3 separate regions of the Homo sapiens genome follow, and all the other regions are linked to region 1. The links are contacts of gene promoters, found by promoter capture Hi-C in human tissues and cell types (Jung and others, 2019). All regions are on one chromosome and are shown on one strand. Each heading gives the region's core, a stretch centred on a gene start or on the middle of the fragment in contact. The rest is flanking DNA. Distances are from core to core; before and after follow the strand shown.

The links. Contacts are between HindIII fragments. The study calls those that stand out against the background at their distance.
Region 2: a fragment that was not itself captured here is called in contact with the fragment with the promoter of WFDC1 in region 1 in 2 of the 25 tissues and cell types used here (hippocampus and spleen).
Region 3: a fragment that was not itself captured here is called in contact with the fragment with the promoter of WFDC1 in region 1 in 1 of the 25 tissues and cell types used here (bladder).

What each region holds. Positions count from the first base shown.
Region 1 is chr16:84,292,282-84,297,064 of GRCh38, reverse strand. It overlaps WFDC1 (WAP four-disulfide core domain 1), which reads right to left and starts at 2,187. Exons shown (of 7, transcript NM_021197.4): 1 at 1,950-2,187. The coding sequence starts at 2,093. It overlaps LOC124903734, which reads right to left. Exons shown (of 6, transcript XM_047435022.1): 4 at 4,515-4,566; 5 at 3,430-3,548; 6 at 2,227-2,732. The coding sequence ends at 2,227. The HindIII fragment of the contact is 18,601 bases long and covers 1-4,783 here.
Region 2 is chr16:84,737,659-84,742,441 of GRCh38, reverse strand. USP10 (ubiquitin specific peptidase 10) reads right to left here. Exons shown (of 14, transcript NM_005153.3): 3 at 2,073-2,133. Among named protein-coding and RNA genes, the nearest start is that of USP10, 40 kb to the right of the region's middle. RefSeq lists a silencer at 2,445-2,739 and an enhancer at 3,701-3,750. The HindIII fragment of the contact is 4,524 bases long and covers 665-4,783 here.
Region 3 is chr16:84,600,950-84,605,732 of GRCh38, reverse strand. The region is part of intron 2 of COTL1 (coactosin like F-actin binding protein 1); the gene reads left to right. Among named protein-coding and RNA genes, the nearest start is that of COTL1, 15 kb to the left of the region's middle. RefSeq lists enhancers at 2,055-2,264, 1,730-2,294, 2,305-2,424 and a silencer at 2,316-2,610. The HindIII fragment of the contact is 8,893 bases long and covers 1-4,783 here.

The DNA.
Region 1 (4,783 bases), core at 938-3,437:
GATAAAATCAGATGACATATTGGCAATCTCTCTATGGTTGTAGAACCAAAGTGCTACTAACTACAGTTGAGGGTTAAATCATCCTGTTGCACCAGAGAAGAGCATGGAGGAGTCAATAAAATCTGAGAAGAGTCTCTCACCCCTCCTCAATGCCTCCCCTCTGGCCAGGTCTGGTCTCCCAAGCAGCTCTTAGATGCACCACTTCTGCCTGTGAGCCTCGGCTCATGCTGAGCCTTCTTCCAGGAATTTCCTTCCTCCTCCTAATTCCTAATCCTTCCCCAAGATCCAGTCAAGGTCTCCACCTCCTCCAGGAAGCCTTAGGTGACTACACCATCTCACATGAGCTTTCCCTTCTCCAAGCGCCTCATCATGTCACTCTACTACTCTTTCCACTTCTCGAAGTCCTCCTGTCTCCCGCCACGAGCATGTGCCGAACATGGAGAATATGAGCCCTGGAGGCCCAGATTTGTCTCAATACAGTTTCAGGCACCCCACTATGCCTGGGGTCATTAATCATTCTCCCTTCCCTCTTCTCCAGCTGGCAAACTCCTATTTATCCTTTAAAGCCACAGGTCCACTGTCCCCAACCCTAAAAACCCTGTCTGACTCTCCTGGGGAAGAGCTGCACACGCATCCCGTGCTACCACTGCAGCCGCTCATAATTCACCCACAAGAATGTACCAGGCGTCAACTTAATGGCAGGCACCAGGGGCACACATTAGTGAAACAGAACCCTGCCCTACCCCAAGGAACCTACATGCTACCCTGTTAGGCAACACCAAACAAAGTCACAATTATTTGATTGAAAGCTGCCAAGATGCACTGCCAGCTTGCTATGTTGCAAAGACGTTCTACATACTGAGACATTCAATCCTCACACAGGTGCTGTGGGTGCCAGCATTACCTTCTTGAGCCCTCTGTGTGCTGATATCGTCCTGGCTCACTCCGTCCCTGCGGATCTGTGATCTCTGGGGGGTGGGAGGAACCAAAAATGATAGCCTCCTCCACCCCATTCTCTCTCCTAGTTCCCTTCCTGCTTTATTGCTTCCTCAGCACTTGCAATCTGCACATACTAATAAATGAGATCTCTCTCATTTATTCTTTGCTGCCCCCAGCCCCCCATTGAGTTCCCCAGGCAGAGATGTGAGGCCTGTATCCCCACAGCCTAGGACAGTACCTGGTAAACAGTGGCGACCCAGACATAGTTGTGTGAAGAAATGCATCCCTCTGTCTTTTGCAGATGAGATTGCTGGGGTTCAGAGACGTCAAGCAGCTTGCCTGAGAGAAGCCACGCAGCTAATGAGCAGCAGAGCCCGATTCACACCCAGACATCTGGCCCCAGGGCATGTGTTTCTTGCCACTCACTGCCTCATGCCTTCTCTTTGTACTGCCATCGTTTGTCACCCAACTGCCTCTGCACCTCGGCCACGCCACCCTTGAGGATGGGGGCTGGTACCTCCTTTATCTTGTATCCACAGGACCCCACAGAGTGCCTTCCCCAGAGCGGTTTCTGCTAAATTCTGTTTAACAGAGTGTATTCATTCTGTTTGCTGAATGAATAAACAACCACATGAATGCATAAGTGTATTTCACAAACATTTGGTACTGATCAGGGAGACGGAATGCTCCGTTTAAATCCTGGGGTTCCGAAATGAGATGCTGTCTTTCAGGAGCAAGCATACTTTTGTAACAAGGCAAAAGTAAGGCACGATTCTTTGGCACATTTGTGATGTGTCTTTTGCCTCTTGATTCACAGATAAGGGTCCTTTTTTGGGGGTGAGCCCCATCTGCCCACCACACAACTCAGACACACACGGATAGGAAGACGCCTGCCTTGCCACGTTTTGGGGGAGCACTTACAGGAGAAGGCAGTGTCTAGGGATCGCCTCTCCTCAAGGCTGACTCCCACCCACACAGGCTGCCCCAGCCTCCCCATCCCAGGCACTTACACGGGATTTCTCGGCCAGCCTCGCAGGCAATGCCCGTTTCCAGATATTCTTGGCAGAGCCGGCGTGGAGGAGAAGTAGCAAGAGGCACAGAGCCCGGATGATCTGCCTCCTGCAGCTGCCCGGCCCCACGCCGGTTAAAGGCATTTCCTCCCTGGGCAGCGACCTTCCAGACGCACACAGAAGAGGGGCCCCCCTCGCTGCGTGGGCCTGTGAGTGGGGACAGGAGCGTGCACAGTCTGCTGGACTTTCTTAGTTCCACCCAGCAGGGTCCCTCGGATCATGTGTCCGCGTCCAGCACATGCCCCTTCCTCGATGGTGGCTGGCCTGCCCGGTTATTTTTAGCTTGCCCTATAACATCTGGCCCCAGACGCTCCAACCAGGGCGTCTGCAGCCCAGGCAGCTCAGTGGGCGGTGGCAGCAGGAGGAGGGGGCACCGGCTTGCTTGGAGACGTGGCCGGGAGTGGCCTGTCACTCTCCACTCTCCATAATGAGCACTTCCTTGCAGGCTGGGGCGGTCTCCTCCCAAGGAGGTGTGCTTGACACAGGGCTCGGGGCTGGACATGCAGGGGAGTGCAGCCGGATGGGTGGGGGCTCGGCTGCTACCTTGTTCACATTTCGAGCTGGGCTGACAAACTATCTGCCTATAAAAGCTTCTTTGAAAGAGGCTGCTGGACTGGCACTGGCCAAGGGTGCAGCCATGAAGAGACGACTTCCACCCTTGCACCCGCCGGGGTCCTCCTGCCTGATGTGGGCATGTGGGTAGTTCCTCATAGCGTGTGTTTCCTGTGAGATTTAAAAGAAATTGAGCACATAAAGCATTTCACACACATAAGTGTGCTGTCACTGTCAGCCGGTGTATCTGCACATGTGCATTTATGTGTATGCGTGTGTGCACGTGGGTGTGCATGTGCACGTGTGTGTTTTACAGGAATGTAGCACAGCGGGCTCAACATTTCACAAACTTCATATTCCCTTGTCTGTTCTCAGCACTTCCAAGACAGATACTGGTTTTTTGTTTTGTTTTGTTTTTCGAGACGGGTCTTGCTCTGTCACCCACGCTGGAGTGCAGTGGTGTGATCACAGATCACTACAACCTCTGCCTCCCGGGTTCAAGCGATTCTCCTGTCTCGGCCTTCCAAGTAGCTGGGATAACAGGCATGTGCCACCATGCCTGGCTAATTTTTGTATTTTTAGTGGAGACTGGGTTTCACCATGCTGGCCAGGCTGGTCTCAAACTCCTGACCTTAAGTGATCTGCCCGCCTCAGCCTCCCAAAGTGCTGGTATTACAGGTGTGTGAGCCACCACACCCGGCCCCAAAACAGACACTGTTTTGATGCCCGCTTTACAGATGAGGAAACAGAGGGGGCTGCCTGAGGTCATGCAACAGCAGCAGAGAGGAGGCTGGAACCCAGGTAGGTCAGACCCTGTGGCACCCCCCTAGGCGAAGCAGAAGGGACCCAAGCACTAGGCTTGACGCACCTGCCTGATCCCAGTTCAGCCTCTGCGAGATGCTGGAAAGCCTCTTGCTCATGGTCCTCAGTTCTCTCATCTGTGAAATGGGCATGTGAAAGTCTCTGCCTCTTGAGATCGATGTGGGGCTACAGGAGAGGGTGCCAGCTGTGCCCAGCACTTGCACAGAGTGAGTGCTCCAGAAAGATTGGTTCCTCCCTCCCTGGGGACCCTCACCCCCCACCTCCTGGCCAGCACAGCCTTCAGAATGCCCTGGGCAGGTATCATCAACCCCTCTTGGCCTTTTAGTGAATGACAATAGTGGCAAACACATATAGTCTGTGTAGGTCGGGTACGGTGGCTCACACTTGTAATCCTAGCACTTAGGGAGGCAGAGGATGCCTTGAGCCCAGGAGTTCAAGACCAGTCTGGGCAACATAGTGAGACCTCATCTCTACAAAAAATACAAAATAAAAAAAGTAGCCCGGCGTGCTGATGCACACCTGTAGTCCCAGCTAATTGGGAGACTGAGATGGGAGGATCACCTAAGCGTGGGAGGTTGAGGCTGCAGTGAGCTGTGATGGCGCCACTGTACTCCAGCCTGGGTCACAGAGCAAGACCCTGTATCAAAAAAAAAAAACCTTAAAAGCCATACAGTCTGTGTGTTCGGCAATGTTTGAAGCACTTCCTGCATTTTAATGCTTTTAGGTCTCATATTAGCCTTATAAGCAGGTGCTGTCTAGGATCCCATGCACAGAGAGGTTAAGACACTTGCCCAGTGAGCAATGCAAAATTTAAGTTCACCATCAGAGTCCTGTAAACCCAGGAGCCCAAGCGTGAGAGTCTTTTTACATTTTAGACCCTAGATGCCTCCTTTGCCTCCCGCTAGGCCCAGCCCTGATCATTACCTTGCCCTAGATTCTAGAATATTCCTTCATTTCTTCATCCAGAAACTACTGGCTGAGCCCTTATGGGGGCATGGTCCAGCGTGCTCCACTCCCTCTTCTTTCAGCTTTATGGGACGCAGTCTCAATGCCCCTCCCTGCAGGGCAAGGCTGCTTATTTAGAAGCCAGGAGCCACCCACGGACATGATGGAGCTGCTACCCCTACTTACCAGGACGACCTGGAACAGGTCCTGCCCCATCTCTCTGCCTCTGTTTTCTCATCTGTAAAACAGGGGTATGGAGTCAGAACTTACTCGCAGGTTTGCCATGAGGCCCAGCTGCACTTAGGCGAGGATCTAGGCTCAGCACATGCTTGCTGTTAGGAGATGAGCGTTCTGAGGCACCGCCTCCTGGGCCTCCTCCACCCGCACCCTGTTCTCCAGGCAGAGCGGAACCTTGGCCCAGGTTCCATTTGAGAAACTTCCTGCTGCTTGGAACC
Region 2 (4,783 bases), core at 1,677-4,176, 440 kb before region 1:
CTCAGAGAGTTCACATTTATTAGGGAGACAAATACAAACAACTGAGAATGAAAACATGGAGGGAGGGGAGAGAAAGCTGTGAATAGCTTTAGAAAAAGGATTCTTCTGGATGCAGGAAACAGTGATCAACTTCTATCAGAAACTAGAGAGGTCAGTGGAACTTGATGGATCACTGAATTGCTAAGGGCAGGGTGAAGGAGTGGTATCTCAAGCTTTAGGAACATCTAAAACAGGCAGTGCTTGAGGTGAAGGACAACCATTCACCTTGATGTGATTATTACTTGTTGTATGCCTGTATGAAAATATCTCATGTACCCCATACATATATACACCTATTATGTACCTACAAAAATTAAAATATAAAAAAATTAAAAAACACAAAAATAGAAAAGGCCGAGATCTAAAAGGGAAGCCACGATGAGGTGCCTCTGCAAAGGGCTTGCTGCAGCTGGAGGTAGTGGGAGGGAGCAGAATAAAGCATCCTAAACCATTCATCCAACAAATGTACTGAGGGCTTACAACATTCCAGATACTACAGGCGCAGTGACAGACACAGAGAAATGGATCCTGCCATCAGCAGCTGAGCAGGCTGGAAAGAGAGGCAGGTCCATGACAGTGCCCACAGGCTCTGTACAGTCGAACAGGCACTGGAAGAGAAACTAATGTCATGGAAACACAAGATACCCAGAAAGGCTGCAGAGAAAAGCAGGCCTGTCACTAACTGTGCAAACTGGTGGCAAGATTCCAGTCGTGTTTTTGGCAGAAAAAAGGCAGGACTTAGAGGGAACAGAGTAAAGAATGGAGAAAAAGGGCCAAGAAGCAGTCACTGAAAAGGGCAGGCAGGCTGGAAGGAGGGAGGGGGAAGCAGAACTCCAGAGGCTGGGGGAGCTGGTGGTGCCCACTGCACAGGGAGGAGGGTGAACTCAAAGAAGTGATGTGCATGGGAACATCATGGGGCATTTGTAAGCACTGGTTCAACATGAGCAGCATGCTCACCACGTGCAAAGCACACAGTGACAGAGGAAGTCCCACTGACTCAGATGTCTGAGAGGTTGACATCAGCCAATTAAAAGGTGGCTCAGGAGGCTGAGCAGCCCGGCTTCCCGGTCCCTCAAGCTTCATTCATTTTATTACTTGTCCTAAGCTATTGTTAGATCTGCTCTTTCCCTTATGGTCTCCCACATTTCTTATAAATCTAAAATTTTAGATATAATCACTCCCTGATGTTACTGGAGATAAAACGTTTGGTTAGTCTTTTCAAGGCTTCTATTGAAGCCTAAATTGTAATTAAAACCCCTTTCATAAGTCTGACCATGCTAACTGAACAGGGAATCCAAACCTCTAACTCTCAAAGAAAAAGTTTGGCATCAGTTTCCTGGAGGCCAGTAAGGGCCTTTAAAGTGATTCAGATTGAAAAATGATCTCGACAAGTTTGAATTGTGCAAGGGCAGCCTGCAATCAATAATTAAACAACCTTGTTGGTATTCCAACGCTGGGTACTTAAGCAATACAAAATCATTGCATCTCCATAAGCACCATCTCTGGCAATCAGCTTAGTGCCTGTGATGGAGACCCAAAAAAGTAACAGACCAGGAGGTGAAGAGTTGACCTGAGTTCCCAAGAGTCAGCGACAGACCAGGACATGAATGTGAACTGCAAGAACAACAGATGCCAGCTGCCCCTTAGTTTACAAAGAACACAGGCTCAGAAGCTAGCTGGCGCTGGAGCCAGCAGGCTGCTTAGCAACAAGACCCAAAGTTCGCTTCAACTCCAGCATGTGCTGATGAAGAGTAACATACCTGTTGCACTCAGAACTGTTAGGAAAAAAAGAACTCAACAACCATTTCCTAAACTAAATCTTACATGGCTGGCACTCCGAAGCACAGGATACGCTTTAAAACCAATTCACTAGTCAAAGTGATTCAGCAATTAAATACATTACAGTTTACAGCAAAAACTTCAAGCTACAAAGAAATGTTTATTCAAATGGGAAACAATGTTTACAGGTAGCCTGCCCACCCAGCACGTATGGCCAAATTCCCTTCAGGGAAATAAGGAGAGAACTAGCTTACCATCAGGTAGTTTATCCACAGCCTGTGTGCCACACAGAACTGTTCCACTGTATGGAGGAAGCTGCACAAGGAATCAGAAAACAAATTTTAATTCAACAAAATGTTAAAACCAACGCTTACCATTTAATTAAGGCAACAATTCATTAAAACTCTTAATCCATACAACTTTGCATGCCGTTACTTCTAGCAGAATAACATACATGAAGAGTCAGTGCAATCTAAATCATCTTCATTTAACGAAAAAAACACAATAGAAATGCTTTCAAATATTTATCACTATTAAACAGATCCGAAAATGAAGCCAAAAGGAATAAAAATGAACTCCAATGGACATGTAAATCAGCTACAATGAAATGCTTATGATACATCCTTCTTTCCACAGGATGTCAGTGACTGACCATCCAGACCACAGACACTTTTGTTTGTGCACTAGCGAAGATGACTCTTCCTGACTGCACCTCTTATTCACGATCACTACATTGCAACACAGCCAGTAGAGGCTGGGACCAGGTCCATGGTCGGAGAGCAGAGGAAAGCGCACTATAAACAAAAAGCCTGGTGACTGCAGCTCCCTTTTTAACACAGTGCCTTAATTAACTACATTAACAGCTAGAAGTCACATTCCTTGTTTGGCAGACAGAAAGCAGAATGGGAACTGTCTGACTTCTTTGTAAAAAGCTGAAAGGTTATCTCAAAAATAACTTAAATTTTTCTTCTTCCTAGCTATTCCATAACATTTATTTAAGAGTTGGAAATGCTTCCAATGGACACATTGGGTGTAAGAAAGTTTAGGAAGGGGCAGGGCATGGTGGCTCATGCCTGTAATCCCAGCAATGAGGGAGGCTGAGGTGGGTGAATCACTTGAGGTCAGGAGTTCTAGACCAGTCTGGCCAACATGGTGAAACCCCATCTCTACTAAAAATACAAAAAATCAGCTGGGCGTGGTGGCAGGCACCTGTAATCCCAGCTACTTGGGAGGCTAAGGCAGGAGAATCGTTTGAACCTGGGGGATGGAGGTTGCAGTGAGCCGAGATCGCGCCACTGCACTCCAGCCTGGGCAATAGAGCAAGACTTTGTCTCAAAAACCAAAACAAAACAAAACAAAAAAAAAACAAACCCTGTCTCTACTAAAAAATACAAAAAATTAGCCGGGCATGGTGGTGGGTGCCTGTAGTCCCAGCTACTCAGGAGGCTGAGGCAGGAGAATGGCGTGAACCCGGGAGGCGGAGCTTGCAGTGAGCCGAGATAGTGCCACTGCACTCCAGCCTGGGCAACAGCACAAGACTCTGTCTCAAAAAAAAAAAAAAGGTTTAGGAAGAAAAGGGGTAAGGTAAGCAGAGAGATAAACTGCTACCTGAGGGCAGAACAAAAGAACAAAAAGACATTCTGGTGCAGCACTTCCCAAAGTCTGTTCACTGCAGTACAAAGGCCAGTGCAGGAACGGCCCTAGGGCCGCAAAGTTCAGAGGCTCCTAGGTAAGTCTCATGCCCAATACTGTATGAGAGCTGCTGCTTGATTGGCTTCCTCAGCTGAGTTCTCCAATGAGATCTCAGCACACCAATTCAATAATCACAGCAATAAAAGCTTCTCTCTGCTAGTAACGCAGTAAGTTCTCTTCCCAGAGAATTATGACAAACAGGAAAACACAGGGCAATTCAAAAGAAGCCAACACCTTCAGGAGTTGACAGCTGCACTTATCTCCACCACCAGGGGGCAACCTAGTACGCATCACGTTGACACCCAGAAGAAAGCATTCTGTATGCTGAGATGGGCTACACTAGCCTTGGCACCCGCAAGGCAAAGACCATTCCACACACCAGCATTGATGCTGGCAGGCACCTGGAGCAGAGAGGTGGGTCTATAAGGGCAGTGGACACAGCGGCCATGTGTGTCTCAGGAAGCCTCCATCTCGTTCAAAACCCTCTGTGGTCAAAGAAGACAGTTTAGAAACTGATACATAGAATGCCCTCTTTTTCTGTTAATGACACTAGGATGCCCCCTGGTGACAGAAAGCTGTGTTATTTTGAGGCATGAAAAGTGTTTTGAATCACTCTATTTTTACACAAAATTTATTGTAACATCAAGAAATCATCTTTTTCTGAGTCAAAACAGTTTCATCACTATTATATCAATGTTCTCTTCACACTTCCCAGTATTCTGTTCTGCTCGGGGAAGAGAGAATGCTGAAGGAAACCTCCAGACCCGAGAGACTGCAGCAGGCTGGGAAGACGCACAATTCAGAGAAGGGACCTCTTCACCCATCCACTTCACAAGGCAGAGAGCTGTTAGAACCCTGCTCACCATCTTCCGGCTGTCCCCTTCCTCAACATTCAACCACGGGGTGTGAACACTCACTCAACTCCCAGCCACTCCCACAACATGCAGAAGAAAACCCCAGCAATCGGGAAAAATACACAGATGACGCTGAGGACAAGCCAAGTGGAGAGGCGGGGCCGGTAATGCCAGGTGGCGCTGACTGAGGGTGGAGAGGCTGGAAAGGCTGGACCAGTGACACCAGGTGGCACTGACTGGGCACTCAGGGTGTGCCAGGCACACATCCTGCTCCTCAACAACTCTGGGGAGGAGGTCCTGTTACTGTGGCCCTCTGACAGATGAGGAAGCCAGGCGACACTGCCAGCTTCAGATGAGGAAGCCAGGTGACAGTGCCAGCAGGTGACACTGCCAGTAAGAGGCACAGCAGGGATCTGGTG
Region 3 (4,783 bases), core at 778-3,277, 310 kb before region 1:
CCTGGAGGCTCCAGGGGAGAATCCATTTTCTTGCCTTCTTGTGCTTCCAGAGACTGCCTGCATTCTTTGGCTTGTGGCCACTTCCTCTGTCTTCAAAGCCAGTACTGGCAGGTCGAGTCCTCATGATGCCAGCTCTCTGGTTCTGGCCCTCTTCCCCACCCTTCCCCATTTAAGGACTGCAGTGATCACGTGGGTGTCACCCAGATAACCCAGGAGAATCTCCCATCTCAGGATCCTTACCTTAACCACACCCTCAAAGCCCTTTTGCCATGTGAGGGACATATTCACAGTTTTGGGGTTTAGGACATAGATGTCTTAGGGGCCGTTGTTTTGCCTGCCGCAGTCACTTGTGATTTCATTTAATATGCCCAGTGACCCAGCATCGCGGGCCCTGTTGTTATCCCATTTCACAGCCGAGGCAGTACGCAGGCCAGGCTGCAATTCTTACCTGGCGTGTGTGCTTCTCGCCCCCACTCCTGACACCCCCTGCACCCCAGCTTGCAATGTAAAATCTTTGTGAAACAAGAAGGGAAGACCACGGGAGGCTCTTCTGTGGAACACCGTGGGGCAGACCTAAGGCCCAGGCCCAGGCCATGGGGGGCCGTGGGAAGTGTTTAGAGGCCACTGTTGTTTAGAGGCCATTTCTGCCATTGTTGTTGACACAGAAAGCCTGTGCGTGTGTCTGGGGAGCAATGCTCCTTAATTCCTGAACCCGAGTGTTCCCTCCTGCCCTGGAGAGACTTTCCCAGGAAATCCCGATTTCCCTACTTTTGCCTGCAGGGCTCGCCTTTGGAGGTCTGCTCTGACCCGGAAGCACTTTTCTCCCCGTTTCTGGCTAGAATTCTACGCTGCTTATAAAATGGAGTGTATTGTTCATGGCTTGCAAATAAAAGCTGCTGCTGCTTCAGGCGGGCCAGGGGTCAGCTGGAGCTGGGGGAGGGGTGAAAAGAACCTGGCTTGAGATGCAAAGAGCCAGGCTCCTGGCGGCCCCTGTGTGACCCCTACAGCCACAGCCCCCTCTGGGCCCCTGCCTAACAGAGGGACAGAGAGAGGGCTGTGTCCACCCTGCAGCTCTCTGGATTTGGCCAAACCTGGCTGCTGTGTGGCCCATTCTTGGGAACACCACACTCTCTTCCTGGGTGACTTTGGTCACTCATCCCCCCAACACATATAAACTGAGCACTCACGGTCTGCTGGGCACTCGTGCTGGGAGAGCTCAGTGGGGTGCATCACCATGCACAACCTTGTGAATGGACCGAAACCCACTGAAATGTCCACTTTCACAGGGTGCAGTTCATGCTGTGTAAATAATATCTTAGGATGAAAAAGCATAAAGAAAAAAGGAGGATGAGGCTCCTGGGTGGGCAGGAGGACAGGAACCTAGTAGGGCCATGGGGTGGGGGCCGTGGGAGGGGAGCGTGGGTGGGGAGTGAGGGTGGAGAGCAGGGGGTGAGGGCTGTGGAGGGTGAGTGTGGGGTGGGGAGCAGGGGGTGGGGACCGTGGCATGAGGGCTATGGCCGGTGAGTGTGGATGGGGAGCGCAGGGGTTGGGGAGTAGGGGGTAGTGTAGGTGGGGGCCATGGGGTGAGGGCTGTGGAGCAGGGAGCATGGGTGGGGAGTGGGAGGGGAGCATGGGTGAGAAGGCGGTTGGGGAGTATGGGGTTGGGCCGTGGTGGGGCAGCGGGAGGGAGAGGGGAGTTGCGGGGGTAGTAGGGAGTGGGGAGCATGGGGTGGGGGCCATCAGGGAGGGAGGTGGGTGGGGAGTGGCGGGTAGAAAGTGGGGGGAGGTGGGTAGCTGGCAGGGCCCAGGGTGCAGTGGCCCCGGGAGCCATGTGAGGCCTCTGGGTTTTCCTGGAGCAGTGCGCATTTTATTCTGATCACTTTTGTTTCATGTCCTCCTAGAACTTTGCCTTGGCCCTTTCTGTGGCTCATTCCCAGCTGGGCAGGGTCTTATTCTGCCACTTCTTCTGGGTCCCCAGGCATGATGCGCCAACCCCACAGGCCCTGAGCAGCCCTTTTCCCTGAGCACAGCCCTGCCTCTCCCCTCTGAACTCCCGGCTCCCCCACTGCCTCCATTCGCTTCATAGTCTGTTGCCATTGTCACCGTTGGTCCCAAGGCCGCCTTGTCCTTATCATCCTCACCTAGCGCTTCCCAACACTTCCTGTGTGCCAGGCCCGATTCCCAGGGCATCACCCCCTCAGCTGGCTGATGAGGATCAACGTGCTGTGTCACCGATGAGGAGACCTCCAGGGGGAGGCTTGCTGGTCCCCTGGGCTCTCAGTGGGTCCCCCTGTGTTTACGGCAGAGCTGTGACGCCGTGTTGTACCCACGGCCGGGTTTCCAGTGTGTTCACTCAGAGCCTGGCGCAGAGCCCTGGCTGAGTCACACTTCGTTGCCTCAGTCCTTTGGGAAGAGGGGAGGTTCTGCCTCGGATGTTGCATGGGGTAATGAATAAGTGAATCCGTAGAAGAGTAAAGTGAGTCAGCTGTCCCCGTGGGGGCTGGTGTGCGCAGGCTTGCGGGCTGGAGTGTTGTTAAAGTCCACGGGGAAGGAAAACTGGCTGCGAGTCTGCCCCCACCAACCAGGGGCTCCCAGGCAGAGATGGAGAGGCCTCCGGGGAACTGGGGGGCAGAGAGGGGAAGTCGCTGGGCCATTGTTACATGGGAGGAAAGGGGCAGAGCCAGGACCTGAACCCTGGTCTCCAGGCTCTCATGCCGCTGAGGTTTCAAGCCAGCTGCGTCCCTCTGGGCTACCGTTCTTGGTGCATGTGAAAGGTGGAGAAGCAGCTTCCTTGTTACGCAGGCATCACTGACTCTGGCATCGCTGACTCCAGCAACACTGCCTTTTTGGCCTTCCCTTTCCATGCACTTTTTTTTTTTTTTGAGATGAAGTCTCTGTCGCCCAGGCTGGAGTGCAGTGGCATGATCTCAGCTTACTGCAACCTCTGCCTCCTGGACTCAAGCAATTCTCCTACGTCAGCCTCCCGAGTAGCTGGGATTACAGGTGTGCACCACCATGAATGGCTAATTTTTGTATTTTTAGTAGAGACAGGGTTTTGCCGGGTTGGCCAGGCTGGTCTCGAATTCCTGAGCTCAAGTGATCTGCTCGCCTTGGCCTCCCAAAGTGCTGGGATTACAGGCATGAGCCACTGCGTCTGGCCACATGTGCTTTTATTAAACCACAAATTTGTCAAAACAAATCAGTTGTTATGTCTGTCCATATCCATTCGTTCCTGCCTGTCTATTCATTCCTGCTCTCTGGGGGTGGAAGTCACACTTTAAAAATCCTGACAAAGAATTGGTTTTATTCTTTTTTTTTTTTAATTAAAAGAAAAAAAGTTTTTTGAGACAGAGTCTCACTGTGGCCCAGGCTGGAGTGCAGTGGTGCGATCATAGTTCACTGCAGCCTCAACCTCCTGGGCTCAAGCAATCCTCCTGCCTCGGCCTCCCAAAGTGTTGGGATTACAGGTGTGAGCTGCTGTGCCCATCTGCTTGGTTTTACTCTTATAAAATGGCACCCCCCCCACCCCCATTGAACTGAAACGCAGCTGCAAATTTGGAACTGAAAAGCCTCTGAGAAGTCAAAGATGCCATGTAGATGCCCTTCATTTATTCGGGAAGTATGTATTGAGTACATGTGGGGCATCGTCTGGGTGCTTTGGATGTGCTAGGGAACGAGATTCCTTCCCTCCTGGAGTAGGGCTGAGCAAGCTGAAGGAGGCCTGTAGCTCATTCTGAGCCTTTAAGCTCTTAGTTTGCACACAGTTATCATCAGCTGCATCATATGCCCTTCTGGCTTGTGGTGAGTCGGAAAAAGAGAGAAGGGCTGGTGGAGGAAGGCGTTTTGAACTTGCCAGCAGAGGCTGTTGCTTTGTCTGGAGTTCTGTCACAATCTCCCTCTCAAATTGTCAACAAGAACCCTCTTTGTCCTTACCCTGTTCTCTGGAGGAACTCTGAGTCATCCTTCAAGACCCTGATCAGGATGGGTGCGGTGGCTTATGCCTGTAGTCCCAGCACTTTGGGAGGCCAGGATGGGGGGATCACGAGGTCAAGAGTTCGAGACCAGCCTGGCCAACATGGTGAAACCTGGTCTATATTAAAATACAAAAATTAGCTGGGTGTGGTGGAGCGTGCCAGTAATCCCAGCTACTCGGGAGGCTGAGGCAGGAGAACTGCTTGAACCCGGGAGGCGGAGGTTGCATGAGCCGAGATTGTGCCCCTGCACTCCAGCCTGGGTGACAGAGCAAGACTCCGTCTCGGGGGGATAAAAGAAAAAGACCCTAATCAAACATCACCTCCTCTGCAAAGCCAGTCCTGGTCACAGCTGCCCAGGCAGAGCGGATTTCCTTCTTTCCTTGATGCTCCTGTAACTGCCAGTCACAACTCTTTGCCATAGCAGTAATTTCATGGTATTCACACACTACATTTTTGTTTGCTATGGTAGACTGTATATTTTTTGAAGGTAGGGATTGCATTTTCAGCAAAATCCCTGTATCACAGATTGTCAGTAAGTGTTTGTCAAATAACCAACCCACAGCGATGGAAGAGGCAGCACAACAGTGAAAAGCAGACACAAGAGTATAAAGCAGTGTGTGCCAGGGCTGTTCAGTGATTGGGAGCCAGACGCTGAACCCCTCAGTGGCGCAGCGTCTCCTTATAGATGCTATAGATACTGTAATAAGGTCCTCAGAGCCTCCAGGGACTGCTTTACAGCCACTCTTCTCTAAGTCAGAGGGTGGAGTCAGGTCTAACACACTAACTCCCATTTAAGGAAGTAGAGAATT